2 separate regions of the Homo sapiens genome follow, and region 1 is linked to region 2. The links are contacts of gene promoters, found by promoter capture Hi-C in blood cells and fetal thymus (Javierre and others, 2016). All regions are on one chromosome and are shown on one strand. Each heading gives the region's core, a stretch centred on a gene start or on the middle of the fragment in contact. The rest is flanking DNA. Distances are from core to core; before and after follow the strand shown.

What was found. Contacts are between HindIII fragments. The CHiCAGO score rates a contact against its expected background, and 5 or more counts as called.
Region 1: the fragment with the promoter of UBL4B here is called in contact with the fragment with the promoter of GNAI3 in region 2 in 1 of 17 cell types (M0 macrophages); the score reaches 5.9 in M0 macrophages.

Annotation. Positions count from the first base shown.
Region 1 is chr1:110,108,418-110,114,489 of GRCh38, reverse strand. UBL4B (ubiquitin like 4B) reads right to left here and starts at 2,047. Exons shown (of 1, transcript NM_203412.2): 1 at 543-2,047. The coding sequence starts at 1,955. The coding sequence ends at 1,431. It overlaps LINC01397 (long intergenic non-protein coding RNA 1397), which reads right to left. Exons shown (of 4, transcript NR_126382.1): 2 at 5,462-5,645; 3 at 5,077-5,191; 4 at 4,771-4,885. The HindIII fragment of the contact is 8,258 bases long and covers 1-5,943 here.
Region 2 is chr1:109,547,259-109,553,055 of GRCh38, reverse strand. It overlaps GNAI3 (G protein subunit alpha i3), which reads right to left and starts at 4,441. Exons shown (of 9, transcript NM_006496.4): 1 at 4,218-4,441. The coding sequence starts at 4,335. It overlaps GPR61 (G protein-coupled receptor 61), which reads right to left. Exons shown (of 2, transcript NM_001393907.1): 2 at 5,796-5,797. RefSeq lists enhancers at 4,155-4,324, 4,855-4,914. The HindIII fragment of the contact is 6,158 bases long and covers 802-5,797 here.

The DNA.
Region 1 (6,072 bases), core at 798-3,297, 560 kb before region 2:
TGTCACTGCCGCTGAGCCCACCACTAGAAGACATCCCTCCCAGTTGGACAGTCTTTGCCTCTAACCGTCACCAACACTCATGGGGTAAGTAGATGCTGTTATAAGGATGCCCATGCAACAGGTGGGAAACCTGAGCATCAGACAGGAAAAGCAGGTTACCCATGGCCACACAGCTGGACTCGGACTGGAAGAGAGGATGAGGGGCCCTGCAGGCCAAGGACAGGATGCTTCCTAGGGAAGGGGGCCCTGCTTGTTCAAGACATTCTCCTCCACCCCTTCCCTCCATCCCCATCACTCAGGACTGAAACTTTTGCAATAACAGCATTTCAGGGGCTTCAGCAGTGAATGGGGGACCACAGCTCCCCACTCCCTCCCACTCACACACAGAGTGTGGGGACTCCTCAGCCTCTGCAAGGGCCACTCTCTCACTCAAAGAACAGAGTAAAGGGCCTGGCTTTCCTCGTAGTCTGCAGGGGACTGGCCCCTCTATGCTGAACCCAGGGCCCCGTGAGGCCCCGTGCATTCAGTCACACACACTAGACTCTAGTTTCATGTCACCACTTTACTTTTCACATGTATAGCAGCTCTCTGCATCTAGGCTGCGTGCTCTGTGAGGGCAAGGATCCTCATTGACAGATACCATTTTTCCTTCCAGGGAGCCTTGGGCAGCGCTGGGCAGGTAATGTGAGCTGTGATACCTACTGACTGATCAGTCTGGGAGGGTGGGGCATGGCTCTGTTCACGCTGGCCACAGGGAGTGTATGACTTTGCTGAACTTTTTTTCTGCCTGAGGCTCAGTTTCCTGCTATTCTTGGTCTGTGTCTGTCTCCCTGAGGGCTCCAGGGCTGGCACCCGGTACGTGCCCTCCTCCCACTCTCACCTCTGCTGTGCCTGTCCCTTAAGCTGGAAGCACAAGCAGGAGAACAGCAGGGGCAGCCTCACCCAGAAGGCAAGGGGCAGCTACCTGACATTCCTCTCCTCTTGGCTGCTGGGGAGCCTAGGGGAGATGTCACGGTCTGAGGATGGAGGAAAATGAACTCACATTGTCTTTCTGTCCCGAAGGAGAAAGAGGGTCTGCCTAGAACCATGGAGACCCTGGGCCAGGGCTGCTTTCAGCCTGGGGAGCTGCTGGGTATGTGTGGGCAAAGCTGCCAGCACAGGAGGGGACTGTGGCCTTTGGGGCTGCCCTCCGGTGATCAGAACCCTTCTAGGGGAAGCATGGTGATGAGGGTTGGTTCACTCTGCATTTCAGAGGGAGGACCTCAGGCCCAAGAGGGGACAGGGATCCAAAAACCCTCCAGCTGCTTGGAAGGTTCAAAAAGGGGTGTGGACGCATCCACATCAGCAGGAAGTAGTAGGAAAAGTCACCAGGGAACACGTAAGGATGAGGCCGGGAGAATTTTAGCATGCAAATGGGTAGGATGGCCCGTTTACTGATCAGCTGCTGCCTCCTCCTTCTCCTCCATGTCACAGGAGCTCTGAGGCCGTGCCTTCGCCTCAAGCTCCCTCTCTCCAGCTGGCTCCACGTGAGGCTCCTCTGCCAGGAGGTACTGGGCCAGCTGCTCCAGGTGCTCCAGGCTTATCTTCTGCAGGCGCTCCTCGTGCTCCTGCCTTAGCAGCTGCAGCACGGCCTTGGCATCCTGTGGTTCAAAGTGTTTAGCTAGGACCAGTCCCAGCTGGTGCCACAGGGGCTGGGTCTGCGGCTGGTGGGCCTCCTTTAGCGCCATCTTCTCCAAGGGCTGCATGATGACATTGATAGAGGCATTGGGCCCAATGCAGTAGTCAGAGAGGTGCTTGTCATCCTCCAGGAGCTGGCCACGGAAAAGCAGGTGCTGCTGCTCCTCAGGCACCTTCAGCCGCCTGGACACCAGTCTCTTCAGCGTGGCTACACTCTCTTGCCCTGACACCTTCAGACTGCATCTCTGGCCCAGGAGCAGCTTGACTGTGAGGAACATCGGGCTGAGTGGAATCAGGAGGGATCCATGCTCTGGGAGCTGCCCTGAAGATTAGGGGGTCCTGCGGGAGATGTTGGCTTCTCCCTATCAACAAAGGGCTAGTAGTCCCAGGAGACCAGGGACCCAGCTTAGGCAGGCAGCCATTGGCTAGTGCACGGTGATGTCACAATGCTGCGGGGGGGCTCATTTCCAGAGTGGAACTTTTGGGACAGCAAAGGGGTATTTGGGCCCAGAGCATCCTTCCTCCACGAGAGGAGAAAAAGAGCACTAGGAAAGAAAATGTGGGACTGGGGGAAATGAGAGTGAGACTAGGGAAAGGGAGGGAGGGAAAGGACAGGGTGGTGGGAGGAGCATGTCTATTGATTTCTTCAACACATGTGTATTAGGTGCCACCTCTGTGCCAGCACCTGGACCTGGGGAGACAGTCATATTCAGATGGATGACTTCTGCCTTCATGACACTTTCACACTAGTGAGCTGGCTAGCATTTATCAAGCGTCCTCTTTCTGTCAAGCACTTTACACGCTCTTTTGGATTGGGCTTTCCAGCAGCAGACACTGAGACAGGGATTTGAGAACAAGTACTCAATTAGGAGGTGATCCCAGGAGGCACCAGGAGGGGAGTGAGGATGTGAGATGAGGACGGGAGGGAAATCAAAACGTGCATTCATGAGCAGGTTGCCATTGTGGGCAACTAGTATGTTATCCTGCTGGGGAGTTCTGGGAGGTTGCATGGAACACACCTGAGTTGCACCAGGTGTGGTTTTTTTGTTTTTTTTTTTGTTTTTTGAGACAGGGTCTCACTCTGTTGCCCAGGCTGGAGTGCAGTGGCATGATCTCGGCTCACTGCAACCTCCGTTTCCTGGGTTCAAGTAATTCTCCTGTGTCAGCCTCCCAAGTAACTGGGGCTACAGCTGCACGCCACCATGCCTGGCTAATTTTTGTATTTTTAGTAGAGATGGGTTTCTCCATGCTGCCCAGGCTGATCTCAAACTCCCAGACACAAGCAATCTGCCTGCTTTGGCCTCCCAAAGTGCTGAGGTTACAGGCGTGAGCCACCGCACCTGGCCGAACCTGCATCTTTATGCTCTGACTCCTGTCTTTGGCTAATAGAAGTGCTACCTCCTTGGCACTTCTGGTCCACAGGTGTTAAGCAGCATGCTCCTGTGACCACAGAAAAGTAGGAAGCCATCGGGCCCTCAGGAATGTGAGTGCTGAGGGGATGGGGCAGGACAGCCCACAGCATCTGCATCACAGGCCTGCCTAATTGAATCCTCTCAACCTATGAGGCAGGCACTGCCATGATCTCCATCTGCCAGAGGAGAAAGTGGAGGCTTGGCTGATCCTACAGCAAGCAGGCAGAATTGCTCTTGTCTTCACTGTTACCTCATGTTGCCTCCTAAACAAATCTCTGCTCAGTGCCTTTTGTGGCCCAGGCCCTGAGCAGGCACCCCCGGCTCAAAGGTGAATATGAAAAAGGACACTGATTGGGCCTCCTCTGTGTCTGCAACTTCTGCAGCATTTGGCAGTTTTCAGTGCAACACATTGCTGAAGGCCTTCTGGGTCAAGCCCTTTATATATGTTGTCACAATTTAGCCTGGGAGGAAAGTATTGTCTCATTTTAGAACTGAGCAACTTTGGAGAAGACCTGAATAACGTCTCGCAGCCAGTGGGCTGATTTTGTCAGGGATCCCCTCAACTCTCACCAGCTCTGTGCTCGACTGTGCCCTTCTTCTCACTCACCTTCTCCCTCCCTCCCACCTAACCTCCTTTCCTTTTCCACCTGCCTGGAAGCTACAGTGGCATGATGCTGTTGTCAACATCCTTGGACTTTCCTGAACTGCCCTTCCACAGCACCCAGCCCTGAACTCCGCCCAAAGGTGGCTGCAAGCTCTGTCCCTGTCTTTGGAAGCTGGCAGCCAAGAGCAGCTGGTGAAGATACCCATGGGGCCGGGCGCGGTGGCTCATGCCTGTAATCCTAGCACTTTGGGAGGCTGAGGCGGGCAGATCGTGAGGTCAGGAGTTCAAGATCAGCCTGACCAACATGGTAAAACCCCGTCTCTACTAAAAATACAAAAATTAGCCGGGCGTGGTGGCGCGCACCTAATATCCCAGCTACTCGGGAGGCTGAGGAAGGAGAATCGCTTGAAACCGGGAGGCAGATGTTGCAGTGAGCCGAGATCACTCCACTGCACTCCAGCCTGGGTGACAGAACGAGACTCTGTCTCAGAAAAAAAAAAAAAGAAGAAGAAGAAAAGAAATATCCATAGATGCCACAGACTCAGCAAGCCCTCACCCCTCACCCCAGCCCCATGTTCACTCTTGCCGGGTGACTCATATTCTAGTCCATAGGGAAACTAGAGCTCACAAGTCAGGAATTCCCTGACCTTCCGTCCCTTCCTCACTTCCTTCCTCCTCTCCTTTCCCCCACTAAATGAGCCCCCTTGTTATTTCCCTTCTTCCCTGAAAATGTCTCCGAAACCCACTCCTCCTCCTCTGCATCCCCACTGCCCACCGGTTCAGGCTGTCAACTCCCTCCAGCCCATAGTTCATCTCCTCCACCAGTCCCACCGCCTTGGGTCCATTCATACCACAGCCAAGGGGATCTTCCCAAAATAAAAGCAAGGTTGTGTACTCCTCTGAGTAACACCATCCAGTTTAGTTTCCTCTGCTTTTGGAATCAAAACTGACCTCCTTGGCCGGGCTCTGCTTGTCACCCAGCCTCGTGCCTCCCCACTTGGCATCCTCCACCGTAGCCACACCAGTCTGCGTTTCCTCTACTTGCTTGTCCTATTTGAACTCTTCCAACTCATCCTTCAAAACTCAGGTTAATGCATGCCTATAGTCCCAGCTACTTTGGAAACCAAGGCAGAAAGATAGCTTGAGCTGAGGAGTCCAAGACCAGCCTGGACAACATAAGAAGATCTTGCCTCTAAAAAAAAAAAAAAAAAAAAAAAAAGAAAGAAAGAAAAAAGAAAAGAAAAAAAAAAGAAAGAAAAAGAAAGAAAAAAATTCAGGTTGAAAATCACCTCCTCCATGAAGGCTTCTTTGCTCTCCCCAGCCCTGGGAAGAGATAATCCCACCTCCCTCCATGCAACCATTGCTCCCCTTGAACTTACTTACGTGAATGCATCTAGCACACCTCATTAGCTCTCAGAGACTGGGACTAGGTCTTCTCTGCCTTTGTGTCCCACGCTTCCAACACAAGCCTGGTACACAGAATGCCTTGAATACCCGCCTGTCAAATGAAGAAGATAAAATTGAGACACATTGAGCCATCCAGGGGCATGCAGGGCAGGTCCAGTGCAGCAGGCTGTGGAAAGACATAAACCCGCCTGCAGCCTCTCTCTCACCCCCACCTCCTGCCCTAGAGAGATGAAAATACAAAATTACATAAAAAATCAATCAGAAAGTGAGGCCAGTCTTTACCAAAGGATCTTCTATAGCATTTCTTTAAATAGCCAGCTCCCCTGGTGCATTTGAAATAAGATAGAATTTGTAAATGTACCTGTACATACAGTGTGGGGGAGACCTGTGGACTCTCTTACTGCAGGGCCTCTCTGCAGAGGGAGCAGGGGGATGGATGAGGTTTCTCCTTGGCCATGTGGGCACTCCCAGCCTCTAGAGGGGAGGACTCAGTGGTGGACAAACCATCAGATGGACAGGATTGGGGCCACACCATGGGAGATGTCCTGAGCAAAGCAGAAAGATGAAAATCAACTGCCTGCCTCCAGCATCTCTTCCTCAGACCCATCCACCCAGCCAGACACTGCCCAGGACACTGGAAGCCACTGAAGAAGACATATTGGGCCTGGGCTTCTAGAAGCACATGAGCACCACAGCTCAGGCTTTGTTTCTCCCAGACCAGCGGCTGCGTGCAGGCAGGGGCCCTTGTGACTGGGGCTTAGAGAGTCATATCTGCTGGGCCACACTTTCTAAACCAGGCTACCTGTTCTAGAGAGTCCTAGTTGGGCCATGAAGATAGAAGCTTCAGAATTAGTGGTGCCCAGAGAAGCCGAGAGAGATGGTCACTACCCAGCTGCTGTGTCTGTGCCCAGGAGACCCCATTGCCTTTCCTAAGGGGGACAGTGGGGGCACTTTGCTGGACCCTCAAATCAC
Region 2 (5,797 bases), core at 3,192-5,691:
CTATTTTTTATTTGCTAGGCACTAATGTGAAGCATTTTACATGCATTATCTCATTTCATATTATGAAACATCATCTCTGCTTTACATATGTAAAAATTATTATTCTTATGGTTAAGTTACTTGCTCTGGGTCTCAGAGCTAATAAGTGGAGGTAGAACTTAAATTCAGTTTTGTGTGAATCCAAAAGCAGTGCTCTTATCCATTATACCAGTGCTTCCCAACCTTTGTCACATGATGGCACACATTAAAAATATTTGTAAGGCTCATTGGGGTGAGCTGAAAGAGCTTGGTGAAAAAAAATTTTCTTGCTTGCCCTGGGGTCAAAAAAAAACAAAAACAAAACCCGCACACACAAAATTTCTTATTATGAAATTATGGCATGAAAAAAATACAAAGTATTACAAATGATATTAAATATTAAATTGGTATAAATTTAGTATTTATACCAAATAAAATTTTTTCAAATTACCAAATTCATGGTAGGGTAGGCACAGTGGCTCACACTGGTAATCCCAGCACTTTGGGAGGCTGAGATGGGAGAATCACATGAGGCCAAGCATTTGAGACCAGCCTGGGCAACATAATGAGACCCCCATCTCTAATTGTTTAAATAGTAAATAACCAAATTACCAAATTCATGAATTATACAAGAGGAAATCATACCAAAGATGTTCAAATGTAATTTCAACTGTTGTAAAAGTTTGAACTTATAAAAATGATTTAAAATTTCAATGCTATAAAAAATTTGTAAACAGCACACCTATATGCCATCCTAAGCACTGGAACATTGGTTGGGAAGCTTTGCATGGTATTTTTTCAATAGAATGTCATAATTAAACACTAATTTGATATACCAAGATCTTCCCAAGAACACTTTATTTTTTTTTTTTTTGAGACAAAGAGTCTCACTTTGTCACCCAGGCTAGAGTGCAGTGGCGTCATCTCTGCTCACTGCAACCTCCACCTCCCGGGTTCAAGCGATTCTCCTGCCTCAGCCTCCCAAGTAGCTGGGACTACAGGTGCACACCACCACGCCCGGCTAATTTTTGTACTTTTAGTAGAGATGGGGTTTCGCCATGTTGGCCAGGCTGGTCTCGAACTCCTGACCTCAGGTGATCCACCAGCCTCGGCCTCCCAAAGTGATGGGATTACAGCCAGGAGCCACCACGCCCAGCCCTTTCCAAGAACATCTAAATGAAATTCAAACCAAAGGTTATCAAAGGAAGAATTACAATACTGAAGTGTCTGTAAATAATCTGGCCCACACTAGCTGCTTAATTTGGTATAATTTCCATAATACCTACAATCTGTAACATTCATTTTGACTTAATAAGAATAGCTAATCTTCATGGAGCTAGTACTATGTGCCAAGCTGTGTTCTGCTTTACATTATTACCATATTTAATCCTCACAGCAATCCTAGGAGTAGCTCTATTTTCTCCATTTTAAAGATAAGAAAACTGAGGCCAAGAGAAATTAACTTTCCCAAGGCTATAACTAGTAAATGGGAATTAGGATTTAAAGCAGTCTGACTTCAGGACCCATGCTATTAATCACCATGTTAAACTACACCCCCATAAGAAAGAAAATATATCATGTGTCAGGAGACACAGGGTAAGTAGATAGATCTCAACTTAAACTAAGTTCCATAGTGATAAAGTAAAAATGACTTGCATCTACAGCAAAGGAGACATTATCCAGGAAAAAGAAAACTGTATACTGTTTTGGGTACATTTTGCTTATAGAAATAGCATAGAAGATAATTTTAATTTCCTATGTGTGTTATGATATGGCTCAAGCAAGAACATATGTTTCTGCAACCTATTTGAATTTGTGGATTTAACTTGCTCAAGAATATTTTAAAAATCTTACTTAAAAAAGAATGAAGTTGGTAAAAATTAAAAGCAAATATGTTTAGTACTTTGATTTTTACTTACTGCTTTTCAAGTTCCCTAAGTCAAGTGTCTAATTTTGTTTTTAATTAAATGCACTACAGATAAAATCCTGAACAAAAATTCTTCTAGACATCTGGACAAGTTCCGCCTATCCAAATTCTGCCTGCCTAATCCTGCATTTTGGAAGAAAGTCTCAAAGTTTCCAACTACATTACAATAAACTGATGTCCTAAGGGTATCTCTGTTGGTCAGTGTAAATCAAATCACTCACAGAAGATGAGAATACATCTTTACTTTCATAACCAATCGATCAATAAAGAAAATGCTGGCCAGGCACGGTGGCCTCACGCCTATAATCCCAGCACTTTGGGAGGCCAAGGCGGGTGGATCACAAGGTCAGGAGATTGAGACCATCCTGGCTAACACGGTGAAACCCCGTCTCTACTAAAAATACAAAAAATTAGCCAGGCGTGGTGGCGGGCGCCTGTAGTCCCAGCTACTTGGGAGGCTGAGGCAGGAGAATGGCGTGAACCCGAGAGGTGGAGGTTGCAGTGAGACGAGATCGCGCCACTGCACTCCAGCCTAGGCAACAGAGGGAGACTCCGTCTCAAAAAAAAAAAAAAGTTAACGCCCTGAATGTTATAGTTTATATCAAATTTCTCAAAGGCCCCAAGGACCAGTGTTCAACATTTGCTGGCTCAGGCTGGTTAACAGTAAATATTTAAGGAGCACCTACTAGGTACCAGGGACCATGCATATCCACCTGTTATACAGACAGTCGCAGTCTAGAACTACAATTTGAACTCGCATCTTCTGAAAGTTCAGGTATACAAACCGGAACCTTAAGCTCCAATACATAACTTTCCCTTTATAGTATATTCAAAAAAGCTATTACCAGAGCTTCTGCAATCTACAACCAACCAAATATGTTCACACGAAGAGACTAACAGGGGCACTTAGAATGTACAAAATAAGTCTTGGGTTACAGTGTACATTCTGTTCTCTGGAGCTTTATACCATGAAAATTTAGCATTTCCCCTAAAGTGACTCCTTTTCCTCAAAAATCAATTGTTTTAAAAAGTAAATTTCTATTGCTTGTAAGGGTTTCTGTAGAAACCCCTACTCCTACTTATTCTTCTCTAATGGAAATACTACCCTAGAAAATATTGGAAAATAATGGAAATACTACCCTAGAAAATCTTCACTAATAATGAAGAAATGTGGCTTGATTTATTAGTAAGCTAATGCCAGTATTCTTTGTATGATTTACTGAGCCTCTCAAAAATTTTGAAACTCATGTTGAGTAAAATACATCCGACTGTGTTTAAAAAAAGCCAATTAAAACGACTATCAAATAACATAAACAGTAATTCCTGAAGTCAATGGTTTTGCTTTGAAGAGGCCAAAAAGGATAAAACAGCCACCAGAAGTCTACCATAGTCTTTACAGTGAATATGTCCAACTCTGTAACTTATCCTAAGGTAACTATTCCAACTACACATCATCTATAGCAACTATTCAGCATCCTCCAATGTGTAATCTCTTGTTCACTAGATCTTCTGCTACAAACCTCAAAGAAATCATTCTTTAAATTTCTTCAGCTCACACCATTTCCCATCCTTTTGTAAAAACAGAAGAAGACGTTATAAAACTTTGAAAATAAAAATGATAGGAAACGGTGGAAAAGTAGAGATGGCCTCTGCACCCAAGCTCTTTTCCTTTATACCTGATAACTTGTCATTTATCTCACCTACCTATCTTCATGTTCCTGGATAATCCAGGGTTCTTCCAACAGTTCAAATGGCTCTCTTACTAACAAATGTCAACGTCCTTATGTGACCATTCTGTTCCAGTCTCTGTACCATCCATTCAAGCCTGCTAGCTTTATCCTGCCAAAGAACCACGACGCTCCAAACTCACAAACCATTATACAAGCCCAACATATACTCTATGCCGTTCTCGTTACCAACACGCTCCAACCCAACGTAAAACCTTCCTAGTATCAACTCTTCCTTTATGAGCTTTTCCCATATTCCTACTCCCTCAACATCTACCGGCCCATACTCCCAAGTCTCTCTGCTAAACGCAATTCTAGCCCGGAGTCACACCCTCTACAGCCTAATTCCCGCAACCCCAAAACCCCACCCCCCTCATCACGCCCTCTGGGGCCTCAGCTAGGAACCCCAACACCCCGCCCCACGCCCGGCACGCCCTCCAGATCCCTTTAGGGTCCTTTCCGTCGGCCCGACCAGACCCCGTTCAGGCCTTCCAAGCGCCTAGGCTCTCCCGACCACCACTCAGTCCCCGCCTCCAGCCCCTCACCGAGTAGCAGCAGCTTCACTTCTTTGGCCGCTTTTTCCCCGTCCTCCCGTAAGTTGCGGTCGATCATCTTGCTTCGCTCCACTGCCGCCTTGTCTTCGGCGCTCAACGTGCAGCCCATGGCGGCGGCGGGAGAGGGGACACGGGCCCGGACTCACTCACACCACGGAAACTGCGGCTCGGCAGGCTGAGGCACCGTCTATTGCTGGGCGGTGGCCCTCTCCGTCAGCTCCCTTAGCGCCCAGAAGAACCGGATATCCGACGTTTACGACACTTCCGGCGACGCCCCGCAGCCTTCACCGTTTAAACCACTCTCCTCAGGGAGAGGAGTTGAGACCGAAAGCGGAAGTCACGGGGAGCTGGCGGCTGGGTTGGGCGGCGGATCTGCAGAGTTTCGAGGTTCTGTCAAGTTCGCTGCCCGCCGCCCAACTTGAAGCCTCATTTACCTTTCGGCTACCTGATTTGGATAAATGGAGAAAAACCGGGGCCTCTAACTCATAATGCCCTCCCGCGTTCAAGATGCCAGTTTTGGGGCGGAGATTTCTAAATTAAAGCCTACATCCCGCGCGGGAATATCTGCTGGTAATTTCTCGCCTGCCAGAAAACTCCTTTGATCTCTGGCTGTGGAGACTCGGGACCCCTACCCAAGTATGGGACACTGCCTCCGTTGGGGTTATCTCAGATCAATGGAATGGGAACAAGCTATCCGGCCTGGGCGCCGTTCACGTCTCACATCTGAGATCGTAACACCGACTGTGCTTAGGACCTCAGCAATAACTTTTTGCCGTCTCTGGCCCACTGACTCCTCTCAAAATGTCCCCTGGTCCTTTTGCTATTCACGTATTTCTGTGGGCTTGAGATTTGCTTAACTCCTATATTGGCAAAAGGCCACTTGAAATCGCTAGCAGATACTCGATAACCTGAAAGGTAAGCCTGTAGTTCCTCCATAAAATTTCCATGCTGCCCTTCTCTCCAGTATAATTCAGATCTTCCTACCTTAGGGTCTTAGAACTAAAACCAAGATAAGTCAACTTCAATTCCACACCCCGAAACAAACCAGTGCATCCTGTGAATCTCCTACTAAAATTTCCTGTTGCGATAACATGCAAAAGGAGAGGTTCTAGTAAAATTTGCCTCTCAGCCCTAGTATCACCTGAAACTTAAGTCCACTGTGAAAGTCCCAGGCAGATAGCATCTTTCACTAATAACCCTGGATACTGCGTGAAGGTAGTCCTAAATCAACTTTTCAGGCAAATAAGCCCACAATTACTATACGTTCTAGCGAAGGGAACTCAGTCCCTAAAACCTTTCCCTGTGATTGTAAATTTATTTCTCTAATAGAATCTGAACTTGAGAAAGTAAGGTCCCAACAGAGAGGTTTATATAGTGATGATTCATTAATTAGAAGGATTTAATTAGAGGATTAGAGCCACCTTAAAAAGCCTCGTCCACCTTAACTCTTAGCAATGCCAATTCTTCAAGGTTTGAAAAGTCCCCCAGTCATTCCCAAATGACTGTTAAGAATGAAAGGGACTGCTTTTCCATTATCAATACTTTTGGGGAAAAAGGGCAAGAGGAAAGGG